Regions from separate parts of the Homo sapiens genome. Here regions 1, 2, 3, 4 and 6 are each linked to region 5. Evidence: promoter capture Hi-C in 16 types of primary human blood cells and fetal thymus (Javierre and others, 2016). All regions are on one chromosome and are shown on one strand. Each heading gives the region's core, a stretch centred on a gene start or on the middle of the fragment in contact. The rest is flanking DNA. Distances are from core to core; before and after follow the strand shown.

Region 1 (2,700 bases), core at 150-2,649, 1.8 Mb after region 5:
GCTGAGCCAGAAGCTCCTATTTCTCCAGATGTCCACAAGGCCATGCCTGGTGACTGCTTCTCAATGTTCCCAGGCTACATACCATGGCTTTGGGGTCAGGCACACCACTGAATAGTATCTTTTCTCTCCCCTTGAGTCTGATCCAATTAAGATAGTATAAGAAACAGGAATCACATAGCTAGAGATGAAATGCCAACTGATTCGAGAAGGAGGTTTCAGGCTGCAATAAAACAGACTTGCATACAAATCCCTCCACCAGTGCTGCCATAAACTGTCCTACCCCAGCTCAGGCTGAGCTGAGAAACCTCCCTAGCAGGAGAGGATGCTTTCCTCCTGACCTACAGAGAAGAAAACTCTGAGGCCTCAGGAAGCCTGGTTCCTCCCTTCTCAGTCCCACCTTGTGGTCTTCTATAGGAGGAAGACTGAGGCGAGGTGTTAGAGAAAGGTCGGTGTCCCTTATAAGAAGCAGAAAATATCTCTTCTGTATGGAAATGAGAGTGAGGATATACAGTTCCTTCAACTCTAGAATTTATTTTAGAGTATCAAAAAATTAAAGGCTACTATTTATTTTAAAAATATCCTTGTACCAGAGAGTAGAGAACTCCAAATCTCTTTTGGAAATGGGGCTCCATGTTTCATGTTAATATTCTGGGTACCTGGTGTAAGGTCTGGTAATTATTTGTTGCCTGATATTTAGAATACTTTTTTCAAACTGTTAGAAAGAGTAGATCAGTAAAACGAAATGTAAAAAGAATACGGGGCACTAATAACTTTTTATCTTACTACATAAGGAAGTTAAAAAATAGTAACGACTACCTCTAATGTTACCATCATTTCACAAAATATTTTACATCCAAAAAAGTAGGAAGAAAAACATTATAGAATAAAGGATGAAGGCAGTTTTGTGACCACACACCTACACACCACCAAATTGTGCTTATTTTTCTCATTTTGCAGTCATCTAGGAGAAACTTGTCATGGTCTGGACTAGCCTGGCATGGAGAAGTCCCAGATCCGTCTGTGATGCTGCCCAGACTTTAGAGATGCCATAAAGGCTACTTAGTATGCCTCACTCTTTGCTTGTTACTTTTTCTGAACAGAGCTCTGTCAGAAAAAATTGTCTCGGTCCTGCCAAGGATGAAATGCCCACACCAGCTGGAGCCCCACCAGATCCAGGGGATGGATTTTATTCACATATTTCCTGTTGTTCAGGTGAGAGCCTCTGTGTGGTTTCTTGTCCTCTTAACATCAGAATTCCTGTGATGGGCCTGGCTTGTCCTGTAATGGGTCCGTCTGTCCTGGATCCTGAATGTAATGGGTGTGGCTTAGATTTGGTACAGCAGAACATGGTGGTGTTCGTTGTCGTCATCTTCAGAAGATTGCCAGTCCTGCATATACTCTAGTTTCATGCTGTCACCTGATAAGATCTTTGAATGTTCTCATCTGACTTTTCATTGCCTTTTTGGTAAAAACAGAACTCTGTAGCCTGGTATGCTCTGTTCCCTTTTGACCTATCCAGCTTGATTTCATTCCTTGCTTTTCTTTGTTCTTTTTGTTCTAGCACTCTCTGGCATTCATTCAGATTTCCCCAGGTTTATTCTTCCACCTGTCACAGTGCTTTTGCGTTGCTAGTTCCTTGGGCTGGAATGCTCTTCCATTCTCTCCTTACCTGTTTAATTCATATGGCTTACTTCAACCCTTCAGATCTCAGTTCCACCAAACCTCTTCAAGAAAGCCTTCCCTCATCCGCTAATCCACAGCATGTTCCTTTATGGTATGCACTCCTACGGCCACATTCCTTTCCTTCACCAGAATCTTACAGCAGTTCATAATCATGTGTATCCATGTGTGTGTGATTGTTTATCTGCTTCTCTCATTAGACTCTTAAGCTGCATGAGAGCAAGTCTGCATGGCTGTCTTGCTTATTGCTTTGTTTCCAGTACCTACCAGAACATCTTACAATTTGTAGATATTCAGTCCGTATGGCTAAATGCCTAAGGGAGAGACTTCTCTTTGCCTCCAGCTGTTTCCCAAACCCCTATGATTAAGTGGCTCGTGCTGTACAGCTCCCAAACAGCCGGCCCTCCATATTCGCAGCTCCACATCCATAAATTCAACAAACAATGCATCAAAAATGTTTGGGGGTGGGTGGGGGGAAACACAATAAAAAATAACAATACAACAATAAAAAGTAATATAAATTTAGCAAGCTGGAAAAAGAAAGTAATAAAAATTTAAAAATACAGTATAACATAACTATTTACATAGCATTTACGTTGTATTAGGTATTATAACCTTAGAGATGATTTAAAATATAGGGGAGGATGTGTTTAGGTTGTATGCAAATACTGTGCCATTTTATATCAGGGACTTGAGCATCTGTGGATTAATATCTAGCGGGTCCTGGAACCCATCCACCACAGATTCCTTGGGACAACTGCATTCTGTGCAGTTCTTCTCTTCCCCTCTAGGCATCTTAGAAAGAGGAGGAGCAAAGGGACTCAGGTGTGTTGCCCGCTGTGTGAACACTACTTCCCATCTGACTCTATTAGAGTTCTTTGAAGCGTTTATTATAATCCCTTACATTTGAGGAAAGTGAGAAATGTAATTTCCTTACATTTGGGAAAAATGAGACTGAGAGAAGGTAATTGATTTGCTTAAGGGCGGAGAGTGGACAAACAAAGGTTCCAGTCTAAACTC
Region 2 (2,700 bases), core at 168-2,667, 1.7 Mb after region 5:
ATCTCAGTGCCTAAAAAAGTTACTCCATCGTTTCGAGATAAGTTTCTGAGAACAAAGAAAACTCTTTAAACTACTGAACTGCATTTTATTCTTTCCTTTTCCGTGTGACCATCTGCAAAAGCAACAGTTGTCAGTTAAACAGAATCAACCTCTTTCCCGAGTGGACATGATTCACAGCTTGGTCACTGTACAGCAGATGTGAACTGAGAACTACGACATAACACAATGACAAAACACAGTACTGAGCACAAAGTACAGGGAAAGAATGAAAGACAGAAAACAGGAAGAGCACACGTCTGATTTTTGTTTTCTTTGGGGCCCCCATTAGTAGCATTCCCTTCATCCATCTTCATTCAGTGGTTCACTATCAGGGCCAAACCCAAAAGTTACAAAACACCATCTAGCTACTGTCTGGCTGCTTTTATTTTTTCTGCACCAGGACGGGAGCACGCATTCCCCTGCAGTCCTCAGCTCCACCGCAATACTGATACCAAACAGTTTCAGTGGCCCAGCTGCCAAGCCTAACCATTCCTTTTTAAAGCATTTCTTCATCAATCCTACAAAACAGCAAGTTCTTCATGGTATATTTTCCTAGAGCATCTAGCTAATATCATACTTTAACAACTTTTTCCAACGTTAACTGGACATGGGTCATTATCACTTAAGTGTTAGCGCCATTGCCCGCGCCCACTCCCATAATCCACACTGCTTTCCTTCTCCATATTGCCAATCCCCACTAAGCAACCCTAAAATCTAGTAATTATCATCAAATCCACTTCTAGGCCCTGGCAAGAATTATTTGGCTTTACCGAAACACCTATTCCATAGGTAACCAATTCCAGTCAAAAATGCCAGAGTATTACTCCTCAACCCAATGCCCTATCTCCTTAGTGGATTATAAACTTACTACGACAACCTGTCTTCTTTGGATCCAATCCCCGCCCAAGTCTGAGTCTTCTCTCCCAGGCTACAAGCCCCCAAGTCCTGGCAGCTCTATGCTTGACAGCTCGCTGACCTCCACCTCATCAGACCATTGGGTCGCCCTTCTCGCCGTCCTCCAGCCTTCTTCCCGCTCAGACACTCATCCACTGTCCGGGGAGCCTCGACCCCTCCTATACCCCCTCCCCGATCCCGCAGTCCCCTTCTGGACCTTGCGGACCCCTCTCAGGTAAGCGGAGCCCCTTGCCCTGCAGGCCCATCAGTGGTCCTGGCTCCCCGCACCTGCCACCAGGGTTCCCAGGCTGCAAAAACACAAGTAGTTCTTCTTCCCAAGGGCCACCCTCCTCCTCAGGCCGCTTTCCTCAGCACCACGTCACCCGCGCTTCGCCGGGAGACCCCCAACTCACCCCCGCCTCCGCCATCTTCTGGGACCAGCCCCCGTACCCCCTACCGCCTCTTCCTCCTCCACTCCCACAACTCCGCCCGAGCTCCACTGCGCCTGTGCGGCCAACGAGGCCGCGCGCAGGCGATCGGGGCAGAAGAGCTTCCGGTTCCTGCTGTCAATAAGACGTGGACCTGCGAGCCGGGGCAAAAGGGCTTCCGGTCTGCGGGAAACTGGAGGCTAGCGGTGGGCGTGGACCGTCGAGGTGACTGGCGGTTGTCGGATCTGCTGTTGTTTGCTGACCAGGCAGCCGTAGGTAATGACGGATGCCCAGACCCTGTGGGCGGAGTAAAGGAATCATGCACTGATACACGCACACTCACCGAGGGGCGCGTCCGTCTGCGTGCCCCTCATCTCGTAGCCGAAAGGAGCGCGTTCCGGGGCAGGCCTCCGGGTACTTCCCGCAGAGGACCGGGCTTTATACTCTTTGCTCCTTTTCCTCCCCTAGTAAGTCATAACTTATTTTGGGAGAAGGGCATAGTTATTTGTCTCTCGTCTCCATGCTACAGCACTTTATGTGCTTTTCATTCAAAATCGTTCCTCGAGGACGACCAAGTAATGTGATTTGGGGGACAGTTTTCATAGGAAGGGCTTTATAAGTTTACACCAACATAAAGAAAACTTAAAAACCTTATAACCGCTTATTTTTCAGAAGTATTATTTTTCATTTAATCTAAAACCATACTTTTAGAACATGAAACCAAGCCAAACAGATCTTTGCAGATTGTGCAAGCGAACTTTTTTTTTTGAATGAAAGTGGTGCCATCAATGCAAAAGCAAGCCCATATAAGTGCCGAAAGGTACTCGTCATAAGGAGGAGTTGCTTCCCTATTCTGAATTTTTATTTATTTTTATTTATTTATTTATTTGAGACGGAGTCTCTCTCTGTCACCCAGGCTGGAGTGCACTGGCATGATCTCGGCTCACTGCAACCTCTGCCTCCCGGGTTCAAGTGATTCTTCTGCCTCAGCCTCCCCAGTAGCTGGGACTACAGGTACATGCCACCATGTCTGCCTACTTTTTGTATTTTTAGTAGAGATGGAGTTTCATCATATTGGCCAGGCTGGTCTCAAACTCCTGACCTCGTGATTCGCCCGCCTCATCCTCCCAAAGTGCTGGGATTACAGGCGTGAGCTGCCCCCTGAATTTGTTTTTTTTAAGCAACTCTTTTTAAAAAGAGAGAAAAAATAATCTCTCTTGAGTGTATTAGTTATTGAGCTATTCCATTTGGAGGTGGCTTAACCCAAAACGTGTATGGATGTGGTAAGATTACAATGGACTTGAATGTTCTAGATGAAATCTGGGCCGAGAGTAATTGC
Region 3 (2,745 bases), core at 145-2,644, 1.8 Mb before region 5:
CTGTCGCCCAGGCTGGAGTGCAGTGGCACAATCTCGGCTCACTGCAAGCTCCGCCTCCCAGGTTCATGCGATTCTCCTGCCTCAGCCTCCCGAGTAGCTGGGACTACAGGTGCCCGTCACAACGCCCGGCTAATTTTTTGTATTTTTACTAGAGACGGGGTTTCACTGTGTTAGCCAGGATGGTCTCGATCTCCTGACTTCGTGATCTGCCCACCTCGGCCTCCCAAAGTGCTGGGATTACAGGCGTGAGCCACTGTGCCCAGCCCTAATCTTTTTTGAGGAACTGCTATAACCATTTTCCACAACAACTCTACCATTTTACACTTCACCAGCAGTATACAAGAGTTCCAGTTTCTCTACATCTTTACCAACAGTATTTATTTTTTATTTTTTAATAAAATAGGGCTGGGTGCAGTGGCTCATGCCTGTAATCCCAGCACTCTGGGAGGCCAACACAGTCGGATCGCTTGAGTCCAGAAGTTCAAGACCAGCCTGGGCAACATGGCAAAACCTCTCCTCTACAAAAGCTCAAAAAATTAGCTGGGTGGTGTGTTGGCACGCGCCTGTAGTCCCAGCTACTGGGGAGGGGGCAGGTTGCTGAGGCGGGAGGATCACTTGAAGCTGGGAGATGGAGGTTGCAGTGAGCCGAAATCACGCAACTACACTCCAGCCTGGGTGACAGAGCATGATCCTATCTCCAAAAAAAAAAAAAATTCTAATGAATGTCAGCCGTTACTTTTTACCTATTGTCTCTCATTTCTTCTTTTTAAATTCCATTTAAACTTGATGTTTTCTCTCTATTCTCTCTTGCCTATTCTTTTGAATATTCCATCTTTTTGCTTCTCTTTACTTTATTCTGGATTTTTTCTGCAGACTTAGTTTCCTGTTTAGTTCTCTTCATGTATTTACAGTGCACTTAGGAAAAAGAGCCCATGCATTGAGTATTTAATTTTCTCTTGTATTATTTGTTTAACCTATGTAACTTTAAAAGTTGTCATTTCTCTACCCAAAACTTTAATCATGTGTTTTTTCTTCTTAGACATAATAAGACTGGTTATTTAATTTAATTAATTTATTTATTGAGACAAGGTGTCTCTCTGTCACCCAGGCTGGAGTGCAGTGGCACGATCTCCACTCGCTGCAACTTCCGCCTCCCAGGCTCAAGTGATCCTCCCACCTCAGCCTCCCGAGCAGAGCAGCTGGGACCACAGGTGCATGCCACCACGCCCAGCTAAGTTTTGTATTTTTTCGTAGAGGTGGCATTTCGCCACGTTGCCCAGGCTAGTCTTGAACTCCTAAGCTAAGGCAATCCGCCTGCCTCTGCCTGCCTTGGCCTCCCAAAGTGCTGGGATTACAGGCGTGAGACACCACACTCGGCCTGACTTGTTATTTTAAAGTCCGTTTGCAATTATTCTCCTATCCAGGGACCCAGAGTCCAGGTTGGTCTTTGTTTCTGCTAGTTTTCACTTTGTCCTGTGTGACTGGTTATCTTTGGTTGTGTTTCAGATGTTCTCTTTGAAAAATTGTTACAGGAATAGGCCAGGCACAATGGCTCAACGTCAGTAATCCCAGCACTTTGGGAGCTGAGGCAGGCAGATTGCTTGAGGTCAGGAGTTCAAGAACAGTCTGTCCAACATGATAAAACCCCGTCTCTACTAAAAATACAAAAATTAGCTGGGCTGATAACACGTCCCAGCTACTTGGGAGGCTGAAGCACGAGAATCTCTTGAACCCGGGAGGCGGAGGTTGCAGTGAGCAGAGATCGTGCCATTGCACTCCAGCCTGGGCAACAGAGCGAGACTCTGTCTCAAAAAAACAAACAACAACAACAACAAAAGAAAATTTTTACAGGAATAATCCGAGGACTAGATTATTAGGATGATGTTTTCTTTATCCAGAAATGACTTGTGTTTTTATCTGCTCAGGGCTTTTGGGCACAAACAGTCTAACCTCACTTTAATCTGATGTCAGGGATTAGGATTTTTCTGGGCCACCCAGATGCTTGGAAACTGGGCTGCAGTCCCTGTGAAGGCTGTTTTATTTCCAACTCACTCTCCTCCTAAAGTCTAGCCATTTGGGTTTCCAGCACATGTGGTAGGGGGTTAACTAGGTCACCAACTTTGGAGGGCTTTGGAATCTAACCTTTGCCCTCCTAGATGACCCAAGAGGTTATTAAAAGTGATTCTCTGTGCCCTTTCCCAGTGTATAAATGGCCCCAGGGCAAAGTGAACCAGTTGTTGCAGGCTTATATCTGTAAATTTTGGTTGTCTCTGTTTCTTGACCTGGAAGTTCTTCTGTGCCTTCTTAGTTCTCTGATGCTGCAGGTGTCCTTTTATGTCCAGCATTTTTTAGTTGTGCTCGGCAGGAGTGTTGGTCCCAGTGACCTGGTCAGCCCTCTTCTCTCTTTTACAAAAGAGTCTTTTAAAGGTTTGTAGGATAAAGAAGATGTGTTGGACCTTGAGAACTCATCTATTCCAGTCTCATTCACATCAATACAGTAGGGTTTATTGATCACCTACCGTGTACCCAGCATTGTGCTACTTATTATGGGAATTCTGAGGAAATGCAAGATGATAGTATTCCTTACATTCAAGGAGTGTAGCTGGGGAAACAAGCACAAACGTAGATAATTAAGTAAAATGTCAGAGTCAAGGGTCACGCAGAGTTAATGGTGTTGGAAGAAAAAAATTACAACAAATTTAAAGATTTTGATTGACTTTTATTCGTGACTTTAGAATCAGGTAA
Region 4 (2,700 bases), core at 137-2,636, 1.7 Mb after region 5:
GACAGACTATAATGTACCTAACCAGTCCCTTATTATGGGCTATTTAGATGGTTTATAGGTTTTTTTTCTCATCAGTAACATTGTGATGAAGATCTGATATAAGCCCTGAAAGTGGAAGTATCATATCAAAGAAAATTTTTAAGTTCTTAATATATTTTGTCAAATTACTATTGAAATCTTACTTCCTAGTCCCTATAACTCAGTTCCCCCAAACCCCAGGACTCACATCCCAGACACCCCTTCATCCCAAGACCCACATCCCAGATCCTCATACCCCAGGCCCTGCTGCTGAAGTCCTTACTGGTCAGCCTTGTGCTGAAACAAACAAGGAGAGGACTGAGAGCAGGACTGGAAGGGTAATGGGAAACTGTCCAGAACACCTCAGATGCTCCTTCTGCCAGCAATGCTTTCCCCTGAGGCCCTTCTATGGTGTCCTTTTGGGATTTAGGTCTCTCTCAAATGGCACTGCAAAGCCTAATCCTGGCCCCTTCATCTAAAAGTGACTCTGACTCTAGCTATTCTTTATTGCATTACACTGGTTTTTTTTAATTGTTGTTGTTGTAGTTGTCATTGCTTGTTTTTTGGTTTTTGTTTTTTTTGTTGTTGTTGTTGTTAATTGTAGAGACAGGTTTTTGCCATGTTTCCCAGGCTGGTCTTGAACTCCTGGGCTCAAGCAATCTGCCTGCCTCAGCCTCCCAAAGTGCTGGGATTACAGGTGTGAGCCACCACACCCAAACTACACTGTTTTTCCCCCCTTTAATAGCACCTATTTCTACCTGATATTATCTTATTAATTACATGTTTAATTTCTGTCAGTAATTATCTTGTTTGGTGTGTTGACTGCAGTATCTGCAGCATCAGGAACAGTTTCTGGCACAGAGAAACTCTTCTCAAATTGACTGCTTATTGGAATCACCTGTGAAGCTTTGAAAATCCCATTACCTACCCCCGACCAAAAGAAAGAATTGTTTAGTTATTAAATCACTTTACAAAAAAATGTAAATATTATTTTCTCCAGGAGATAGAGAATGTAGCAGATATTCTCAAACATGTTTATTTACTACTGTGTAGTTGGCCCCTTGTTGAATCCTTTTTAATGTAGCTAATAGAGTGTGGTTGTACAAACTATGAAAGTTATTGAAATTCTTTGATAAAACTATCATTTTTGGGGGAAAACGTATTGGAAGAACTCATCCAAGTGTGTGTGTGTACACGCTGTGTTTTTCTAACCTTCAGTCCAGAAGTAGAAGGGGTTTAAATCTGCTTGCACTGCCTGTGCCTCCATTATGTTACTGTAGAAATGTGACATGCTAAATATAGGATGGTGCATTATAAAATTGTACCGCTTGAGAATAGACCAGCATGCCATTAAGAATTTTTAGGAAGAACTCATTTAACCTAAGAGCTCTTTGTTTATGGATTTTGAATTTTATATGCCACTGTGATCTATAAAGAAACAAATCCATAATGAAGTCACTATTCACTACTGTGTTGTATATAAAACAATATGTTCCAAGGCAAAAAATTCAATATTCATGCCTCTCCCTAGCCCAATTAAATCAGGATTGCTAAGGGTGGAATCCAGGTGATTCCAATGTGCAGCCAAGTTTGAGAGCTACTGACATAGAAGAAACTCAGCAATATTTGTTGGATGGATGGATGGATGGATGGATGGTTGGATGGGTGAGCAAAAGAACATGGGGAATGAGAAATTTGGGGCTCTGGTTCTAGCACTCCCTCTAATGTGCTGTGTGACCTCGCTGTGTCACTCTACTTTACTGAACACCCATTGTTGCACTACATGTAGAAGGAATGAGAGAAGCCTGAAGACAGAATAATTAAAGCTTTATAGAAAACTTCCGGCTGGGAGCGGTGGCTCACGCCTGGAATCCTAGCACTTTGGAAGGCCGAGGTGGGCGGATCACGAGGTCAGGAGATCGAGACCATCCTGGCTAACACAGTGAAACCCCGCCTCTAGTAGAAATACAAAAAATTAGCCGGGCGTGGTGGCGGGCGCCTGTAGTCCCAGCTACTCGGGAGGCTGAGGCAGGAGAATGGCGTGAACCCGGGAGGCGGAGCTTGCAGTGAGCCGAGATCGCACCACTGCACTCCAGCCTGGGTGACAGAGCGAGACTCCGTCTCAAAAAAAAAAAAAAAGAAAAAAAAGAAAGAAAACTTCCTCCAGAACAAAGCTAAGCCTAACAGGAAGCTCTTTACTATGTGTATTAGGCCATTCTCCCATTGCTATAAAGAAATACCTGAGACTGGGTAATTTATAAAGAAGAGGTTTAATTAACTCACAGTTCTACAGGCTTTACAGAAAGCATGGCGCCGGCATCTGCTTGGCTTCTGGGGAGGCTTTAGGAAGATTACAATCATGGTGGAAGGTGAAAGGAGAGCAGGCATGTCACATGGTGAAAGCAAGAGCTAGAGAGGATAAGTGCCACACTTTTAAACAGCCAGATCTCGTGATGAGTGACTCAGTGTCAGGAAGACAGCACCAAGAGGATGTTGCTAAACCATTCACAAAAAATCCACCCCAACGAGCCAATCACCTCCCACCAGGCCCCACCTCCAACACTGGCTATTACATTTTGACATGAGATCTGGGTGGGACAAATATCCAAACTATATCACTATGGTACCTCTTTACCCACGAACTGGAAAGTATTTGTGAGGCTCCAAAGAGGAACATCACAC
Region 5 (2,782 bases), core at 44-2,543:
TATGTTTTAAATGTGACCAATCAGCTGTACTGTTTCAACTGGGCCCAAGATCTGGACACAGAAACTTAGTATTACTGAAACCTCTTATTCGAAAAGCAGCTGGCATATTGCAGATGCATAACAAGTTATCCTAGAACAGGCGTTTTGAAAAATCCTACAAATCGTCCTTGTACATACTGATGTCACTACATGATGCAAGCCCAGACATAAAATCTTCCACCCTAAGTTTTGCAGAAACATCCACACATCACCTGTGCAACTGTAAGCTGTTCCATTTTATGGAAACCCTGCGAAATGCATCACTGTTTACCCACATCTCAACTTTTTTTTTTTTTTTTTTTTTGGCTCAACTACAGATTCCCAAATACAGGTATATACTGGTAGAATCATAACAGGCTTAAAACTTCAATGGTAGGAATAGTTGGCTCATGCAGCGTGCAAGAAGCGCTCATATGAGCCAAAAAAAAAAAAAAAAAAAAAAGGAATTCTACCAGCAATGGAAAACTCAAGATTCCAAAGCTTTACCTAGAGTTTAGGTACTGGGAACATTCCATCTCCGCACCTATTCCATCCCTTGGCCCTTCGCTGACCCATAACAGAGATTCCAACTATAACCCCCGCAAAAGCAGAGGTCCCAGGAAGAAAGGAAAGAAAGCGTTTTTTTGTTTGTTTGTTTGTTTGTTTTTGTCCTTTTTTCCTTCCTTTCAAATCATCCTCGTACCTCCGGCTTGCCCCACCTGGCTCACCTCCCAGGAGCCACACATGCAGGTAAGAGCCTCCCGTTCAACGTGCAGGGCCGAGAGGCCGGCGGGGACCGGAGAACCTCTTACCTTCGTATATCACAGCCGCGTCCTCTCGGCTGGAGAAAAAAAGCCTCGAGGCCCCGGCGCGCAGAGGAGAAGCGCGTCCTCCGTGCCGCTCCGGGGGGCTACCTCAGCGCCCCCCGAGCAGCCGCCGCCGCAGCGGTCGCGCCACGACCCGGAGCCGCCAGCACCACCTCATGCTGCTGGGCAGCCGCGGGCCGGCGCCGCTGGGGAGGTGGCAGGGAGGCGGGCAGCCGGCGACCTCTCCTACCTCCCTGCAGGGATGAGATAATCCACACCCCCAAAAGTGCGTGGGGGAGGGGGCCTGGCCCCAATCCTCCGACCCCGCGGCCAAAGCCAAGTCTCTTTCCTCTCCCGCTCAGGCCCAATTCCGGCCCCTGGGACCCAGGAGTCCTGAGAGAACAATGTTGGTGGTGGGGCGCGAGGAGCGGAAAAGCGCACTGCGCGGCGTGAGCTGGCGGGTAATCCTGGGCAGCGTTTGTGTGTGAGAGTGCAAGAGGAGCTCAGTCACCCCCCTCCTTCTCCACCTCCTCTTCCTCCCCCTCCTCCTCCTCTATCTCTTCCTCCTCCCTCAAGCACACCCCCTCTCCTAGGCCGCAGCATAGCAACCGAACATGGCGGCTGCGCAGGCGCCGCCAGTCAGTGGCCAGGAGCGGCGGCGGCAGCAACAGGAGGCGATCTCGCGAGAGGCGAGGCCAAAACCCTGCCTCGCTAGCGCAGGGAGAAGTCGCACCAGTCGGAGCGCAGAGGGACACGCAGGTGCGAGAGAGAGCGGCCTAGGAGGATTGGGAGGGCGGATTGGAGGGGGGAGGCGGAGCGCTGTGGCCCCCGCCCCGCAGCCGCGTCGCGATTGGTTGTTTGGACTGCGACCCCTGCTGCACCCACTGACCGCAGGGACCGGATAGTGGGCAAGAAGCGTGTGTTAAAAGGGAAAACCAGACCAGTTGGCAGCAGGTCGCCCCAACCTCAGTGCTCCTGGAGGATATAGGTTTTGGGGGGCAGTTTTGAATCATTTCCTCTCCTAAACGTAGGCTCCAAAACAAAGCCTCAGCAACCAACCTGCGTTTATAAAACAAACGTTCGGGGGCTCCTTCTGTGTGCCTGGAACGGTGTGCTTTTTAAAATTTAATTCCTTCTAATAACATGAATTTGGTGTTATCACGCCAGGGTTTTTAGCCAGGTGCATTATAATATTTTATTGGTGATACAAACTTATTGGTAATACCACAGTTGCCTACTGGCGAATGATCTCAGCTGAAATGGAGGAAGAAGGGATTTGGGGACCGCCACACTTCCTTTTTGCCCAATTTTTGTTAGTGCCCTTTTCTGTCGCCAGGCGCCTTCTTTGTCCTTCCTTGCTCTTAGCTTGAGCATCCTATCAGAGCCTACCTTTATAAAGACGATCTTTCAAAAACCACTTTCCCAAGCCGACAAAATGACTACAAATCAGGGGAATGTGAACAAATCTGGAAAAGACAGAAATTTCTATTGACTCTCTTCTCCCTCACACCTGTTAGTTTTTCCATTTGAAAAAGGCAACTTGTCAATCCATGTTTCCAGCTTTACTTCCTTCACTTGCTTTTCTTCCCAGATCTCTGTTGTAGCCAGTGCTCATTCATTCCTCCCTAAATATGCATTCCTGCCTCTGACTCTCCATTTTGTCTTTGATCATGCCATTCCCTCTGCTAAAATGCTCTTCACCTCATTGTCATCTGTCAACATCCAGTCATCCTCCAACCAAAGATCATATGAGACTTCCACCAGAAATTGAATGTTTCATATAAATAGAATCATACAATATGTAATTTTTGTTTAGAGGCAAGGTCTCGCTATGTTGTCAGGCTGGTCTCCAACTCCTGGGCTCAAGAGATCATCTTACCTTAACCTTCGGAGTAGCTGGGATTACACATGTGAGCCACATGGCTTACATGTAGTCTTGTGTCTGGTGTTAAGCAAGA
Region 6 (2,700 bases), core at 18-2,517, 1.9 Mb after region 5:
ATGAATGGCCAAGACGGGCAAATCAATGTAGTTCAGCAACTCATAGTGGTATTTCACAGACATACAAGATGAAAAGAAGACCATAAGCTTCTTCTTTCGGTTCTTCTTAAGGAATGTAAAGAGCAGAAGGAATCTCTTTTCAGAAGGACAAACAACATATCCCTAGAAAGCGTTTAAGCAGACAGATACAAATGAACCAAGTGGACATTTTCCATTTCCTAACTTGTGTAATTTCATCAAGAGCACTGATAAACACAGTGTGTAAACTGTCATGCCTCACCTACAGCATTTTAAAAGTTCATTAACCCATTTGCTTTCTGAATGATCCTTCCAACAATTACATAAAAACACCAAGTAAGATCCCTACAGTTTTCAGTTATTGATAAAAAGTACCTGTTCAAGACCATCCACTGTTGCATTCGCTTTATCATCATCAACGCCAACATACAATGGCTCCTTTTTCAGAGAAATCCTTGCCAGGTCTTCAACTTTTCGAGTTTGGGTGGCAGAAAAGAGCATAGTCTGTCTACGTGCTGAAACAGATACATATAAAAATAACCCCAATCTTTTAGGGAATCTTTACAATTGCCTCACAACTACAAATATTCTAGGTAGAGATATCAGAAATGGGAGATATGATGTTTCTACAGAATCTACAAATATTACAAAAGGTAAAAAGGGTATATCATGAAACACTAGGTCTATAAATTTGAGGACTTAGATGAAATGGACAAACTCCTTTGAAGACAAACAACTGAAGAAAATAGGAAAACTTTAAATAGCCTTATATCTACTAAAGAAATTTTAGTTATAACCTTCATGTAAAGAAAATTCCAGGCCCAAATGGATTCCATTGGTGAATTCTACTGAACATTTAAGAAAAAAACATCAATTATTCACAAACTCTCCAATAAATTAAAAAGAGGGCTTACATGTCAACTCATTCTTCGAAGTCAGTCATTACACTATACAAAAACCTGACATGACATGACAAGAAAACTATGGACCAATACAATTCGTGAGCACATATACAAAATTTGAAATAGAATTTTAGTAAAGTGAATTCAGCAATATATAAAAAGGATAATGGCTCATGTTTATTCTAGAAATGGATCAGGTTTATTCTAGAAATGCAGGTTGGTTCAACATTTGAAAAATCAACCAATACAATTCACTATGTTAACTAAAGAAAAAACATGATTATTTCAGCAGACAGAAAAAAAACATTTGACCATCTATTTCTGATTAAAAATCCTCAGCAAACTAGGAACAGAAGGGATCTTCCTCAATCTGATAAAAGGCATCTATATAAAACCTGCAGCTAACTTCATATGTAGTTAATGGTAAAAGACTGAATGCTTTCCCCTAAGATCAGAACCAAGATAAGGATGTCTGCTCTCACCACTTCTATTCAGCACCATACTGGAGGTTCTGGCCAGGGCAATCAGGCAGGAAAAAAAAATTAAATAAAGAGGTGAAACTGTCTTTATCTGCACATGATTGCCTATATAGAAAATCCAAAAGGCTACAGTCATCTGGAAAGTCATACTGAATAATCATTCGGTACAGGATTAACTGTCTTGCTAGATACAAGATCAATATAAAATTCAACTGTGTGTGCATATATATGTGTGTATATGTGTGTGTGTATATATGTATATATTAAAGCAACGAGCAATTGGAACTTGAAATTTTAATGAAACACTCAGAGATAAATCTGACAAAAGATGTGAATAAACCTGTATCCCGAACCCCCCTAAATATGATAGAGAAAATATCGAATACATGGAGATATACCTTATTATGGGTTACATGACTCAATACTGTCTTCCTCCAATAATCTCTATTCAATAAAATCTCAGTCAAGATCTGAGACTTTTTTGGAGGGAAGGGGGAGAAACTGACAAACCAATTCTAAAATTTATATAGAAAAGCAAAGGACAAGAATACCACAACTTTAAAAGAGAACAAACTTGGGGCTAACATTACCTGATGGTCAAGACTTAATAGGAGGAACTGGAACTTTCATACACTGCTCATAGGAATGTTAAATGGTACAGCCGCTTTGGAAAACATCTGGCAGTTTTTTAAAAAGTTAAACATACACTAAACATATACCAACTAGGACACTCCTAGGTTTACTTAAGAGAAAAGGAGATATATGCCTCTACAAAGAGTTGTAGATGACTGTTCACAGCAACTTTATTTCCAGAAAATGCAACCTAATCTAGCAGCAGAAAACAGATCAATACTCACCTGGGGACAAGGTATACGTGTAAGGAGGGGTGGGAGGGAGAAATTGAAAAGGGGCAGGAGGAAACCTTTGACTGTGATGGACATGTTCATTTTCTTGATTGCAGCGATGATGTCACAGTGGTAAACAAATCAAAGAACATCAAATTGTACATTATAAATGGGTAGATATAATTATACTTTGACAAAGCTTTTAAAAATAAATTATATAATGAAGGAAACCATGGTCTTAGTTATAACCAGTTCATAATGTTGCAAGTACTATAACCAAGGTATGTACAAGTAAGGCAAAAAATCTGCGGCTTCTTGGGGGATGTTAGATGAGGTAAGAATGGGCAAGAGGTGGAGGACAGGACCTATGTGAAGACTGCTTAACGTGCCTTATAACTTCTAAAACAGCAAAACTATTATATCAAGTTATAATACATTTGATGCTTGTATTCCAAA

Evidence for each region. Contacts are between HindIII fragments. The CHiCAGO score rates a contact against its expected background, and 5 or more counts as called.
Region 1: a fragment that was not itself captured here is called in contact with the fragment with the promoter of PTPN4 in region 5 in 1 of 17 cell types (total CD8 T cells); the score reaches 6.5 in total CD8 T cells.
Region 2: the fragment with the promoter of INSIG2 here is called in contact with the fragment with the promoter of PTPN4 in region 5 in 4 of 17 cell types (activated CD4 T cells, total B cells, naive CD4 T cells and 1 more); the score reaches 7.7 in activated CD4 T cells.
Region 3: a contact is called between a fragment that was not itself captured here and the fragment with the promoter of PTPN4 in region 5, in 1 of 17 cell types (activated CD4 T cells). The highest score is 6.6, in activated CD4 T cells.
Region 4: a fragment that was not itself captured here is called in contact with the fragment with the promoter of PTPN4 in region 5 in 1 of 17 cell types (activated CD4 T cells); the score reaches 5.1 in activated CD4 T cells.
Region 6: a contact is called between a fragment that was not itself captured here and the fragment with the promoter of PTPN4 in region 5, in 1 of 17 cell types (non-activated CD4 T cells). The highest score is 6.7, in non-activated CD4 T cells.

What each region holds. Positions count from the first base shown.
Region 1 is chr2:117,999,333-118,002,032 of GRCh38, reverse strand. It overlaps CCDC93 (CCC complex scaffolding subunit CCDC93), which reads left to right. Exons shown (of 24, transcript NM_019044.5): 4 at 1,101-1,212. Among named protein-coding and RNA genes, the nearest start is that of CCDC93, 13 kb to the left of the region's middle. The HindIII fragment of the contact is 5,303 bases long and covers 1-2,700 here.
Region 2 is chr2:118,087,188-118,089,887 of GRCh38, reverse strand. It overlaps INSIG2 (insulin induced gene 2), which reads right to left and starts at 1,417. Exons shown (of 6, transcript NM_016133.4): 1 at 1,347-1,417. LOC107985940 (a long non-coding RNA gene) reads left to right here and starts at 1,457. Exons shown (of 3, transcript XR_001739662.3): 1 at 1,457-1,637. RefSeq lists enhancers at 1,463-1,652, 1,663-1,712. The HindIII fragment of the contact is 7,859 bases long and covers 1-2,700 here.
Region 3 is chr2:121,533,620-121,536,364 of GRCh38, reverse strand. The region is part of intron 2 of CLASP1 (cytoplasmic linker associated protein 1); the gene reads left to right. It overlaps CLASP1-AS1 (CLASP1 antisense RNA 1), which reads right to left. Exons shown (of 2, transcript XR_001739683.2): 2 at 2,699-2,745. Among named protein-coding and RNA genes, the nearest start is that of RNU4ATAC, 4.1 kb to the right of the region's middle. The HindIII fragment of the contact is 4,052 bases long and covers 1-2,745 here.
Region 4 is chr2:118,016,911-118,019,610 of GRCh38, reverse strand. No RefSeq gene overlaps it. Among named protein-coding and RNA genes, the nearest start is that of CCDC93, 4.2 kb to the right of the region's middle. The HindIII fragment of the contact is 920 bases long and covers 927-1,846 here.
Region 5 is chr2:119,758,433-119,761,214 of GRCh38, reverse strand. It overlaps PTPN4 (protein tyrosine phosphatase non-receptor type 4), which reads right to left and starts at 1,293. Exons shown (of 27, transcript NM_002830.4): 1 at 831-1,293. LOC101927764 (a long non-coding RNA gene) reads left to right here and starts at 1,501. Exons shown (of 4, transcript XR_007087215.1): 1 at 1,501-1,583. RefSeq lists enhancers at 437-1,061, 1,332-1,591, 1,308-1,602 and silencers at 792-1,091, 1,642-1,751. The HindIII fragment of the contact is 4,728 bases long and covers 522-2,782 here.
Region 6 is chr2:117,822,402-117,825,101 of GRCh38, reverse strand. DDX18 (DEAD-box helicase 18) reads right to left here. Exons shown (of 14, transcript NM_006773.4): 8 at 394-533; 9 at 1-162. Among named protein-coding and RNA genes, the nearest start is that of DDX18, 9.1 kb to the right of the region's middle. The HindIII fragment of the contact is 2,356 bases long and covers 90-2,445 here.